2 separate regions of the Homo sapiens genome follow, and region 2 is linked to region 1. Evidence: promoter capture Hi-C in 16 types of primary human blood cells and fetal thymus (Javierre and others, 2016). All regions are on one chromosome and are shown on one strand. The core of a region is centred on a gene start or on the middle of the fragment in contact, and the rest is flanking DNA. Distances in the headings are between cores, read along the strand shown.

The links. Contacts are between HindIII fragments. The CHiCAGO score rates a contact against its expected background, and 5 or more counts as called.
Region 2: a fragment that was not itself captured here is called in contact with the fragment with the promoter of CACYBP in region 1 in 2 of 17 cell types (total CD8 T cells and fetal thymus); the score reaches 6.2 in total CD8 T cells.

The regions. Positions count from the first base shown.
Region 1 is chr1:174,998,155-175,003,592 of GRCh38, reverse strand. CACYBP (calcyclin binding protein) reads right to left here and starts at 3,646. Exons shown (of 6, transcript NM_014412.3): 1 at 3,398-3,646. The coding sequence starts at 3,412. It overlaps LOC105371622 (a long non-coding RNA gene), which reads left to right and starts at 3,947. Exons shown (of 2, transcript NR_188647.1): 1 at 3,947-3,998. RefSeq lists a silencer at 3,626-3,745 and enhancers at 3,776-4,285, 3,837-4,373, 4,316-4,525. The HindIII fragment of the contact is 3,791 bases long and covers 3,058-5,438 here.
Region 2 is chr1:174,737,663-174,743,350 of GRCh38, reverse strand. The region is part of intron 17 of RABGAP1L (RAB GTPase activating protein 1 like); the gene reads right to left. Among named protein-coding and RNA genes, the nearest start is that of RABGAP1L-AS1, 210 kb to the left of the region's middle. The HindIII fragment of the contact is 416 bases long and covers 3,597-4,012 here.

The sequences.
Region 1 (5,438 bases), core at 2,397-4,896:
CAGAATATCAGACGCACAACAGAGTTTGAAAGCCTGTTTCTTAATAGTCTTATAAAATGCAATAACAGAACTAATTCTTTTCTTTTACTACAAGTCTTTTGTTATCTCATTTAACTCAGATGCCCTAGTTTTGCCTATCTATAACAGATGACATGGTATAAAAAGTTCAACTCTGGCCAGGTGCAGTGGCTCACACCTGTAATCCCAGTACTTTGGGAGGCCAAAGCGGGTGGATCACTTGAGGTTAGGGGTTCGAGACCAACATGACCAACACGGCGAAAGCCCGTCTCTACTTAAAATTCAAAAATTTGCCGGGTGTGGTGGCACGTGCCTGTAATCCCAGCTACTCGGGAAGCTGAGGCAGAAGAATCGCTTGAACCCGGGAGGCAAAGGTTGCAGTGACCCGAGATCGCGCCATTGCACTCCAGCCCGGGCAACAAGAGCAAAACTCGGTCTCCCAAAAAAAAAAAAAAATCAACTCTGCCCAACCCTCTTGTCCACACTCTCGACCCTTCCAAGAACAGCTCATATTACTATGACAAAAAATCTTGCAAACTCATCTTTTGAGCATAGAACCAAAATGTTTCAGTTCAAAGTAATATTTTTATTGTAATGGTTTCAAAAAAACGCTGATTCTACAACTCCTAATTCATAATAAAAATATTGAAATGTAAAATGAAATATATTAAGTCTAAGCAAGAGGTTTTGCTTTTTGACTGAAATAGGAATACTTTATCTAGCAGAATGAGAAAGGTACTTCGAATTAGGCAAGGGATTCCCCCAATGGCTGAATTCCCAAGCCCTCTTTATTGCCAGTTTTGACTCTAAAGTACTCTTTTTATTATGAAGTATCCACTGAAAAAACTTAAAACTGAGACAGTTCCTCAGTTCTGTTATTGGCAGACTTGAAACCAACAAAGGTGATTCCTTTGATGCTTTTTCTGCACAAATACTTTAAGATGTCCTAGTTTCCTATCTAATTTATCATGTAATTTTCCTTGCCTTCTTGGCATGTGTTTGTTTTACGTATATAAAAATTTTATTTCTCTTTTATCCCTACCCATAAGGCATTCAAGCTTTATCTTCCTATTTCCTAATTTTTCACTAGGAGGCATTAACACCAATGTGCCTCAAAAATGGGCAAAGGAATTCAACACACATTTCTCCAAAGACACAGAAATGGACACCAAGAACATTAAAGATGCTCAACATCTTCATCATTGGGTAAACGCATATCAAATTCCCAAGATGCCACTTCACACCCAGTAGGATGGTATCATAAACCGAAAAAGAAAAATAAAACACCCCAGAAAATAACAAATGTTGATAATGATGTGGAGAAACTTTCAGAAGCTTCAAACATTTCTTACAGGAATATGATGCAACCACTCTGGAAACAGTCTAACAGTTTCTCAGAAAGTTACCATATGAACCAGTAATTCCACTCCTAGGTATATACCCCAGAGAACTGAAAACACATCCACACAAAAAACTTGGATACAGTACTCGCAGCAGCATTATTTATGCTAGTCACGAAGTGGAAATAAGGCCAGGCGCCATGGCTCACACCTGTAATCCCAGCACTTTCAGAGGCCGAGGCGGGCGGGCGGATCACTTGAGATCAGGAGTTCGAGACCAGCCTGGCCAACGTGGTGAAACCCCGTCGCTACTAAAAATACAAAAATTAGCCGGGCATGGTGGCGCGCGCCTGTAATCCCAGCTTCTCAGGAGGCTAAGGCAGGAGAATCCTTTGAACCCGGGAGACGGAGATTGCAGTGAGCCGAGATTGCGCCATTGCACTCCAGCCTGGGCGACAGAGCGAGACTCCGTCTCAAACAAAGAAGTGGAAATAAATGTCCATAAACGGATGAAAGGATAAACACAATGTGCCACATGCATATAATAGAATATTATTTAGCCATAAAGAGCATGTGTACTGATACACGCTACACCATGGATGAACTTGAAAATGTTAGTGCTAAGTTGAAGGAGCCAAAAAACAAAAGGCCACATACAGCGTGACTCCATTTATATGAAATGCCTACAATAGGCAAATTCACAGAAAGTACAAGATGAGTAGTTGTCAGGGGCTGAGGGAGGAATGGGAAGCAATTGTTTAAAACACACTACATGGTTTCTTTCTGGAGTGATGAAAATGTCCTGAAACTAGACAGTGGTGATGGCTGCACTACACTGTGAATATATTTAAACAAAAAACAAATACCTGAATTGTACACTTTAAAATGGTTAAAAACTTGAATTTTATCTCAAACAAAACAAAAATCAAGTGCCCTCAAATGTATATTTCTAAGTGCCTAAACTGAGAACGATCTCTACTTTCAAGAGGACTAACACTGAGCTATCCACCTGCAAGACTGTGAAGTTATCTCCTAGGGGCACATAGTACCCAAGACCTACCTTAAAAGACTTGTCACAAGATACCCAGATTAATACTGGAACACACAAACCTCATAGTTTTTCTTCATTTAAAGAAAAGATTTTGAGTTTAAAAAACAAAAACAAAACAAAACAAAAGCTTGGGACTCCCCAGTACTTGTTTTCATAAAGCAAATCTAGTTAATACACACCCAACACTTAACTGTGAATAACTGTCCCGTCTTCACCTCCCACTTACGCCAGGAAATGAGCAATACAAGTACTATCATTCCCATTTTCTAACTGAGCAAACTAAGTCTCCACAAAATTTAATTCTCCAACGTTCAGAGTTTACAGAGCTTTAACACAGGCCATTCGCTTTCTTACTATTAATTACAACTAACTTTCCAAGTTATTTATTTTAAAAATCACATACAGCAGATTGCTGTTTGCCAATCACTGACTTAAACACCTAGAAATCATATTTTTTAACAACCCTATGAAATGGATGCTACTGCGACACAGAGAAGCTAAACAACTTGCCCAGAGTAACACAGCTCCTCGTGTGTAGAGAAAACCTGACTAGGAGAATTCAAGTGCTAGCACTGAGAACTCACCTTCCAACCGCCCTCTACCAAGAACGACACTCATGTTTGCACCCAGCTTTGCTTGAATGAAGCTTCCTGTCCACTGGCTGGGAAACCAGGGCAGAAAGGGCCTGAGGAACACGCGCAAAGGGCCGCTCTCCCAGACCCACTCCCCGCACCGCCTGCACGGATAATCGCCGCACACCCCCGCTCGAGCCCAGCAGGCGAGTGGGGTGCGAGGTCGAGTGGAAGCGCTGGGGAGCCGACGGCGCAGCAAGGGGCGAGTGAGGTGTCCCCCGGGAAGGCGGCGCACTGACTGGCGCGGGACCGGGTGGCCGCAGGGCGGCTCAGCCCACGGAAACGGCGGTAGGGCGGGAGGCTGGCGCTGCAGCTCCAGCCGGGGGGCATAAGGAATATGGGGCCGGACCACTTACCTCTTCTGAAGCCATGGGGGCTGGGTCAGGCCGAAGTCCCGAGCTGCAGCCGCGCAGAAGGAGGAACAGGAAACCCCGCGCCGAGCCCTCAAACCGAGCGCAGACGCCTACCCGCACGAGTCGCGGCGCTGCAGCCTGCGCCCACACCGACCCTGCGCAAGATCGCGGCCCGCCTCCCGCACGCGACGGATCTCGAACCTTCGCGAGGCAGCCGCCGCCACCGCCCACCGCGAGCACGCACAGCCCGCCAAGCCTGGCTCCACCCACCCTTCCTCGCCTCGCCGAGCCTAGCCCCACCCCTCCCCGCCCCGCCGAGTCTGGCTCCGCCCGCCTGCCGAATCTCCTAGCAACGCTCAAGTCTCGCGAGCGAACCGGCAATCCGAGAAGAGTAATGTCTTGCTCTCCGCCCTGACAACTTTTATGTATTATAATTTGACCGCGCTGGGCCACGCTGCGCAGTCGCAGCTCGGAACCGCTGCGTTAACCCAGCCCCGGAAATAACGTACCGATCTTCGGAGTCCAAGTCGGAAGTTGACTAGAGAGTCACCTGCTTTCGTCCGCTCTAGGACACCAGACACACCAGGCCGCCATGTTGTGTAAGGTTAGTCTCTCAGCCTCCGCGAGAAGAAGGCGAAAAATGGGGAGGAGCAGCCTGGTTACTTTCAAACGAGAAAGAACGGATATGTTAAGCGTGGAGGGCTCCTAATGGTAGCGGTTTGATTTTCAGTGAGTTTGGCGCGGTGGAGACGTCACCGCGGTCTAACAGTTCCGACGTGGTGGCGTCATCACTGGCCGCCGTAGGAGGTGGAGCTACGTTGGCCTCGTGACCGGGCCCTGTAGCGGAAGCCCAGGTCAAGGCCCTAACAAAAGGGCCCGCCTATGGCCACAGTTTCAGGCCCTCCTTTCAGTCATGGACTGTTGAAGCACGATTTCCTGGTGCTTTCGCCCCTTTCACCGACCATTTCAAGAGTCCGTAGTTCTCGCCTGGGTTTGGATTCGGTATAAGTGAGCCTGTTTACCATCAAAGAAAATGGTGAAATGTCTTCTGGAGACGATGTTCTCTTCTGGTTCTAACCCTGTCACTCAGTGAGACCCCCAGAGAAGCCTAGTTTTCAGATTATTCTAGTCCTTGGCAGGCTCAAGATGTCAACAACACGGTTGGAAACAACCCCTGAGAGGTCACATAGCGCGCACTCAGCTTTACAGATCGTCCAAGGCAGCGACCCCTGAGAGGTCACATAGCGCGCACTCAGCTTTATAGATCGTCCAAGGCAGCAATTAGAATCAGCAACTCGGAGAGGAAAAAAAGCTGTTAGCGGAATGGAGGCTGACCATTATCTGTAGTAAAGAATCGGAAGTACAGTACAAAAATAAATTACCGAAACGCAACATGCGTGAATTTCACACAAAAAAATGAAGTTGAGGGAAAGAAGCCAGACATGGAAGAGTTCATATTGCGTGGTTCCATTTAAAAACTAGCCCATGGTGTTAATGAGCATAGTGGGGAGGACAATGACATGAAAGAGCCACCAGGGGGCTTTTGAGGTTCAGGTAATGTTTCTTGATTTGGACACTGATTATAGATAGGTGGGTTCACTTTAGAAATCTCATTGAGTTGTAAACGTATATTTATGTACGTAGTTTTTTCTGTAGATTATGCTTAAGGCCCGGCGAAGGGGAATTTGCCCAGGTAATGGAAATATTACACCGATACATAGAATTGTCAAAGTTCATGGGATGAACTCCTAAGAGCTGTGTATTTTATCGTATAAATTTTTTTAAGTGTCCAACCAATAGCCTGGAATTATTAAGTACATAATTAAATAAAAACAAATATCCCATGGACCTAATGCAGTGAACAGTTACCTCGTTCTCTTAATTGCTCAGGCTAAGGACTCATACCTGAGTCTTCTATCTCAGGCCTTACATCTTATATAACAAGCCTTACTGGCTTAATCTTCAAAATATGTAGCGAATTTAACGAGTTCTCACAACCTCTGCTTCTACCACCTGACGGGGTTTGGGACATGCTACCCAAAAA
Region 2 (5,688 bases), core at 2,555-5,054, 260 kb after region 1:
CTCAACAAAGGACCTTCAGGTCTCTCAAAAAAAAGTATGGAAGAACTGGAACTCACCAGATCACCATATCCAGATAATGAGATGAGGGCCCCTCATTCACCATAATTGCTTCCTTACCCCTCTCTAGTTCCTGTTTCTTACATATTGCTATATCTCTTCCCTGCTATATAAGTCCCTAGTTTCAGTTTGTCAGGGAGATGGATTTGAGACTGAGCTCCCATCTCATCTCGTCTGCTGCAGCCCCCAATTAAAGCCTTCTTCCTTGGCAATAATCATCATCTTAGTCATTGGCTTTCTGTGCTGTGAGCAGCAGGACCTAGACTGAACCCCTGGTGTTGTGGTAACATATTCATCATATGTCAAGCATTTTGAGGACATTTACAAAGATGGATAAGTCATCCCTACACTCAGAGGACTCCCAGATTAGGATAGCAGATAAAAATATAAACAGATAACACACCACCTAGGGAATGATAGGGAGGTATGACCTGAACATTAGAGCACTGAAGTATTGCTATAAAGTCCCTAAACACATGTTCCATTGGCCATTGAATACTGGCATTCACCTTTCTGTTCTTCTCAAATTCTCTTAAGTCATGATACACATCGGATTATATTGTTTTACAGTTATAGTTATCAGTCAACCATCCCAGGCTGCAGGGGTGCTTTTGATACTCTTCATAATGATACAGGACTTCTTATCAGCTACTATTAGCTGATCTTGACCTTCTCCTTCCTCCAGGCTTCTGCCAGTTTTCCATTAACCCAATCCATCCAGAAATCTTTTGTTAGAGTTCTTGTGCTCATACCACTTTTCTTTCTTCCTTTTTCTTTGAAATGAAGTCTTGCTCTGTCGCTTAGGCTGGAGTGCAGTGGCGCGATCTCAGCTCACTGCAACCTCCGCCTCCTGGGCTTAAGCAAATCTCCTGCCTCAGCCTCCCGAGTAGCTGGGATTACAGGTGTGCGCCACTACACTCAACTAATTTTTGTATTTTTAGTAGAGATGGGTTTCACCACATTAGTTAGGCTGGTCTCGAACTCCTGACCTCAAGTGATCCACCTGCCTTGGCCTCCTAAAGTGCTGGGATTACAAGCTGAGCCACCGCATCTGGCCCCCTTTTCTTTCTTCTTCTTCTTTCCTCCTCCTCCCCCTCCCCCTCCTCCTCTTCTTCTTCTTTCCTCCTCCTCCCCCTCCCTCTCCTCTTCCTCTTCTTCTTTCTTCCTCCTCCCCCTCCCCCTCCTCCTCTTCTTCTTCTTTCCTCCTCCTCCCCCCTCCCCCTCCTCTTCCTCTTCTTCTTCTTCTTTTTTTTTTGAGACAGGGTCTTGCTCTGTCACCCAGGCTGGAGCATAGTAGTGCTATCATGGCTCACCACAGCCTCAACCTTCCAGGCTCAAGCAATCCTCCCACCTCAGCCTCCCAAGTAGCTGGGTCTATAGGCGCATGCCACCATGCCTGGCTAATTTTTCTACTTTTTTTTTTTTTTTTTTTTTTTTTGTAGAAATAGGCTTTTGCCATGTTGCCCAGGCTGGTCTCAAACTCCCCACTTAAAAAAAAAATCCTTAAAAATGCCACAACATGGTATAAAAGTAGCCACATAGACCAGTAGAACAAAACAGAGAACTCAGAAATAAAGACACATAGTTACAGCCAACTGATCTTCAACAAAGCCAACAAGAATTTATACTGGGGGCCGGGTACAGTGGCTCACACCTGTAATCCCAACACTTTGGAAGGCTGAGGCAGGAGGATTGCTTGAACCCAGGAGTTCAAAACCAGCCTAGGCAACAGAGTGAGACCCCATCTCTACAAAAAATAAAACACCAGTCAGGTGTGGCAGCAAATGCCTGTAGTCTGAGCTACTTGGGAGGGTGAGGCAGGGGGATCATCTGGGCCCATGAGGTTGAGGCCACAGTGAGCAGTGATCATGCCACTGCACTCCAGCCTGGGTGACAAGGCAAGACTCTGTCTCAAAAAAACACAAAAACAAACAACAAAAACTTACACTGGGGAAAGGACAATCTCTTCAATAAACGGTGCTGGGAAAATTGTATAGCCATGCAGAAGAATGTAACTGGACCATTATCTCACCATATACAAAAATGAACTCAAAGTAGATTAAAGACTTAAAAGTAAAACCTGATACTATAGAAATATTAGAAGAAAAAATCTAGGGAACCCTCTCCTGGTTGTTGGTTTAGGCAAAGAATTTGTTACAAAGGCCTCAAAAGATCAGGCAACAAAACCAAAAATAAGTGATTGGGAATTAATTAAACTAAAAAGCTCCCACACACAAAAAAAAAAAAACAAAACAAAAAAATCAACAGAGTGAAGAGACAACCTGCAGAATGGGATAAAATATTTGCAAATTATTTATCCAACAGGAACTAATATATAGAACAGATAAGGAACTCAACTCAACAGGAAAAAAACAAATAATCCCATTCATACTTGGGCAAAGTATATGAATAGCCATTTCTCAAAAAAATAAATACAAACAGCCAACAGGTATATGAAAAAATGTTCAACCTCATGAATCATCAGAGAAATGCAAATCAAAACCACAATGAGATAGCATACCTCAGCCAGAATCCCTATTATTAAAAAAGACAGATGTTGACAAGAAAGTGGAGAAAAGGGAACTCATATACACTGTTGGTGGGAATGTAAACTAGTACAGCCACTATGGAAAACAGTATGGAGATTTCTCAAAAAAATAAAAATATAATTACCATTTGATCCAGCAATGCCACTACTGGGAATCGACTCAAAGAAAAAGAAGTCAATATATCAAAGAACTCACATATATACAGTTAGGAGGCTTTAAAACACTCAAGAAGTGGTATGTAATTTTGCCTGGAAACAGCTGATGAATTGAGCAAGAGGCTGTACCGAGACTGACACACCAGGAAATGCTATGCATAGTAAACTTTCATCCCTCCAAGGGGTGAAGTCCTAGGTTTATATCATGTTGGGAAACCAGTAATGAGTGTATTCATCTTTGGGGACCCTTTCTCTTCTGTCCTCATCCATTTATATATAGGTAAATGTTAGTGAAGCTTAAACACTAGGGAAAGCAGAGACAGAAGTGATTTAAGAGAATAACATTGAAAAAGAGTACACAAGAGAGGGTTTGTAAAGTTATATAAACGACTCCACTGCTACCAACCATGTCTCTATGAAGATGTAAGAAGGATGTTACTAATTATAGGAACTCACAATTTTAAAAAATCACCAGCAGGAGCAACTCCACCCTTTCCTCTACCTTTTCCCCCTATCACCTAGAGACACTAGCAGCCTGGTACACATAAAAATACAGAGTGAACTTTAAGAATCATAATAATATACCCTGAGGATCGCTAAGGAGCCTAAGTTTCTTTCTGCCACAGGGGATCTAGCATCTTTCTGCCAAGAAGTACAAAAGACTAAACATACCACTTCACAGTAGTATATTGCGTAGTAAATCTTAATTGCTATGCCACCATCTGTATAACACTTTACTGCAAAGCACTTTTGAGTATATAGTTTCATTCAACTGTAAAAATATTAATCCGGCATATAGGCCATTATTAATTACCTCCATTTTACAATGCAAGCTTAAATATGTTAGATGATTTACCTGAGTTCACAGAATTAAGACTGGAATGACAAGTTTCCTGATTATAATTCAGTTCTCTTTCCATTAGACCATTGGCTCTCAACCATGGCTGCTTATTAAAATCACCTGGGGAGCTTTCATAACACACAGAGGCAGGAGATCCATCTTAGGTCAAATAAATAGAAATTTCTCAGGAGTAGAATGTGGTCACTTGTATTTTTAAGAACTTCCAGGAGTTTCTAGTATGAAACCAGACTGAGAACTGAGCATTACCAAGTTTTCAAGCAATCATGATAATTTAAGAGCATAGTTTTCCTATTTGCACTTATCCATCTATACATCAGGGATATGTAAAATCTACAACTTCTAACCAGTGAATCATAATTATCAACTTTTTTAGAAAGCACAAATAAGCTTCTAGTATATTTTCAGTTAAGTAATTTATCTAGCAAACCATTTTCTATTAGTAATTAGCTTTTATGGAACAAAATATCCACAACTTTGGGTACTAAAAGTATATCTAGTCATATTTAACTGTAAAATTTATTTAAACCGTAAAATGGATGAGAGTGCTTGTTCCTTTATTAGGAGCCAAGCAAGAGAAAGGTACCTATCTAATGGAGGCAGATAATTAAATCACTCATGCTGAAAGTTCTTTCCCAAGTAACCCTGTCCTCACATCAAGCAGTTATACTAGAAATCACAGATCTTCCTGCCATAGTGAGGAGGAGATGTCTCCATTTAAAAAAAGATGGAAGAATTAGTTTAGTTAATTGCTCTGAGATCTACTAAATGACAAAACAAAAACAATTTAAAAGTGAGAGCTACAAGGCAAAGAGACCTAATTAGCAAAGAAAATTGTAGCAACAGTAATATAGCGGTTGCTGCAAAAATTTTACAATTATGGGGAAAGGCTCTATAAGCCCTGTGAAATTCATTCCCATTTAAACATAGTATATTGAACCTAATATTAAACGGTCTGCAAGTTCACAATAGAAGTTCATTAATACTATACTATAAATCAAAAGCTTTAGAGCAGGAGTTAGAAGATCCATATCACAGTTTCATTTCTGCCACCAACTAGCTTAGTTAAGTGTCTCAACCTCCCCCATGTGTAAGATTCCTAAACAGTAAATTGAGGAGTACCAGTTAAGAATAACAAAAGAGATTTGTTAAAAGTTCAGATTCCTGGATCCCACCCTGGATAATTCTGATTCATTAAGTCTAAGACGGGTATTAACATCTACTGTATTTTAGTGCCACCCACCCCACTCTGCAGACCCTAGAAACCACTGATTTCTATATATTTTACAAGGTAAGAGAAGTCAAATAAGAAAAATGTAGAAATACTGGTATAGGTCAACTGAGGAGGGCCTTATACAAGTAGGCCTGAATTCCAATTCCTTATTCCACCATTCCTGCTTCTACCCCTGAAATTCATCGCAGCAAAACTGCTGGGGGGAAATAACCAGTGAAGTGTCTTTCTGATTACTTCCTGAGTGTCTTCCTATTTCTCTAACTGGGATTTAATTTCCCAGGCGCCTTGTGGCAGGGACCCCATTTCTTTCTCTCAGATGGCCAACTGACCAGGACAGCTCAGTTCAAGGTAATCTCCTCCTTGAAACATCTCCTAACTTCCAATCCCATTAAAGAGATGTATTAATGTCAGCCCATGATGCCACCAAACATGGTGGGGATTTCTGTCCCTTCCAAATCTTATGTCAAAATGTTATCCCCAACATTGAAGGGGGGACCTGGTGGGAGGTGTCTGGATCATGGAGGTGGTTCCCTCATGAATGCCTTAGCACCTTCCCCTTGGTGATGAGTGAATTCTGGCTCTGGTAGTTCACACAAGATCTGGTTGTTTAAAAGTGTGTGGCACATCCCCCATCTCTCTCTTGGTCCCGCTCTTTCCATGTGATATGCTGGTTCTCCTTCACCTTCTGCCATGATTGTAAGCTTCCTGAGGTTCTCACCAGGAGTTGAACAGATGTTGGTGCCATGCCTGTACAGCTTGCAGAAACATGGGCCAAATTAAACCCCTTTCTTTGAAAATTACACAAAGTCTCAGGTGTTTCTTTACAGATGTGCA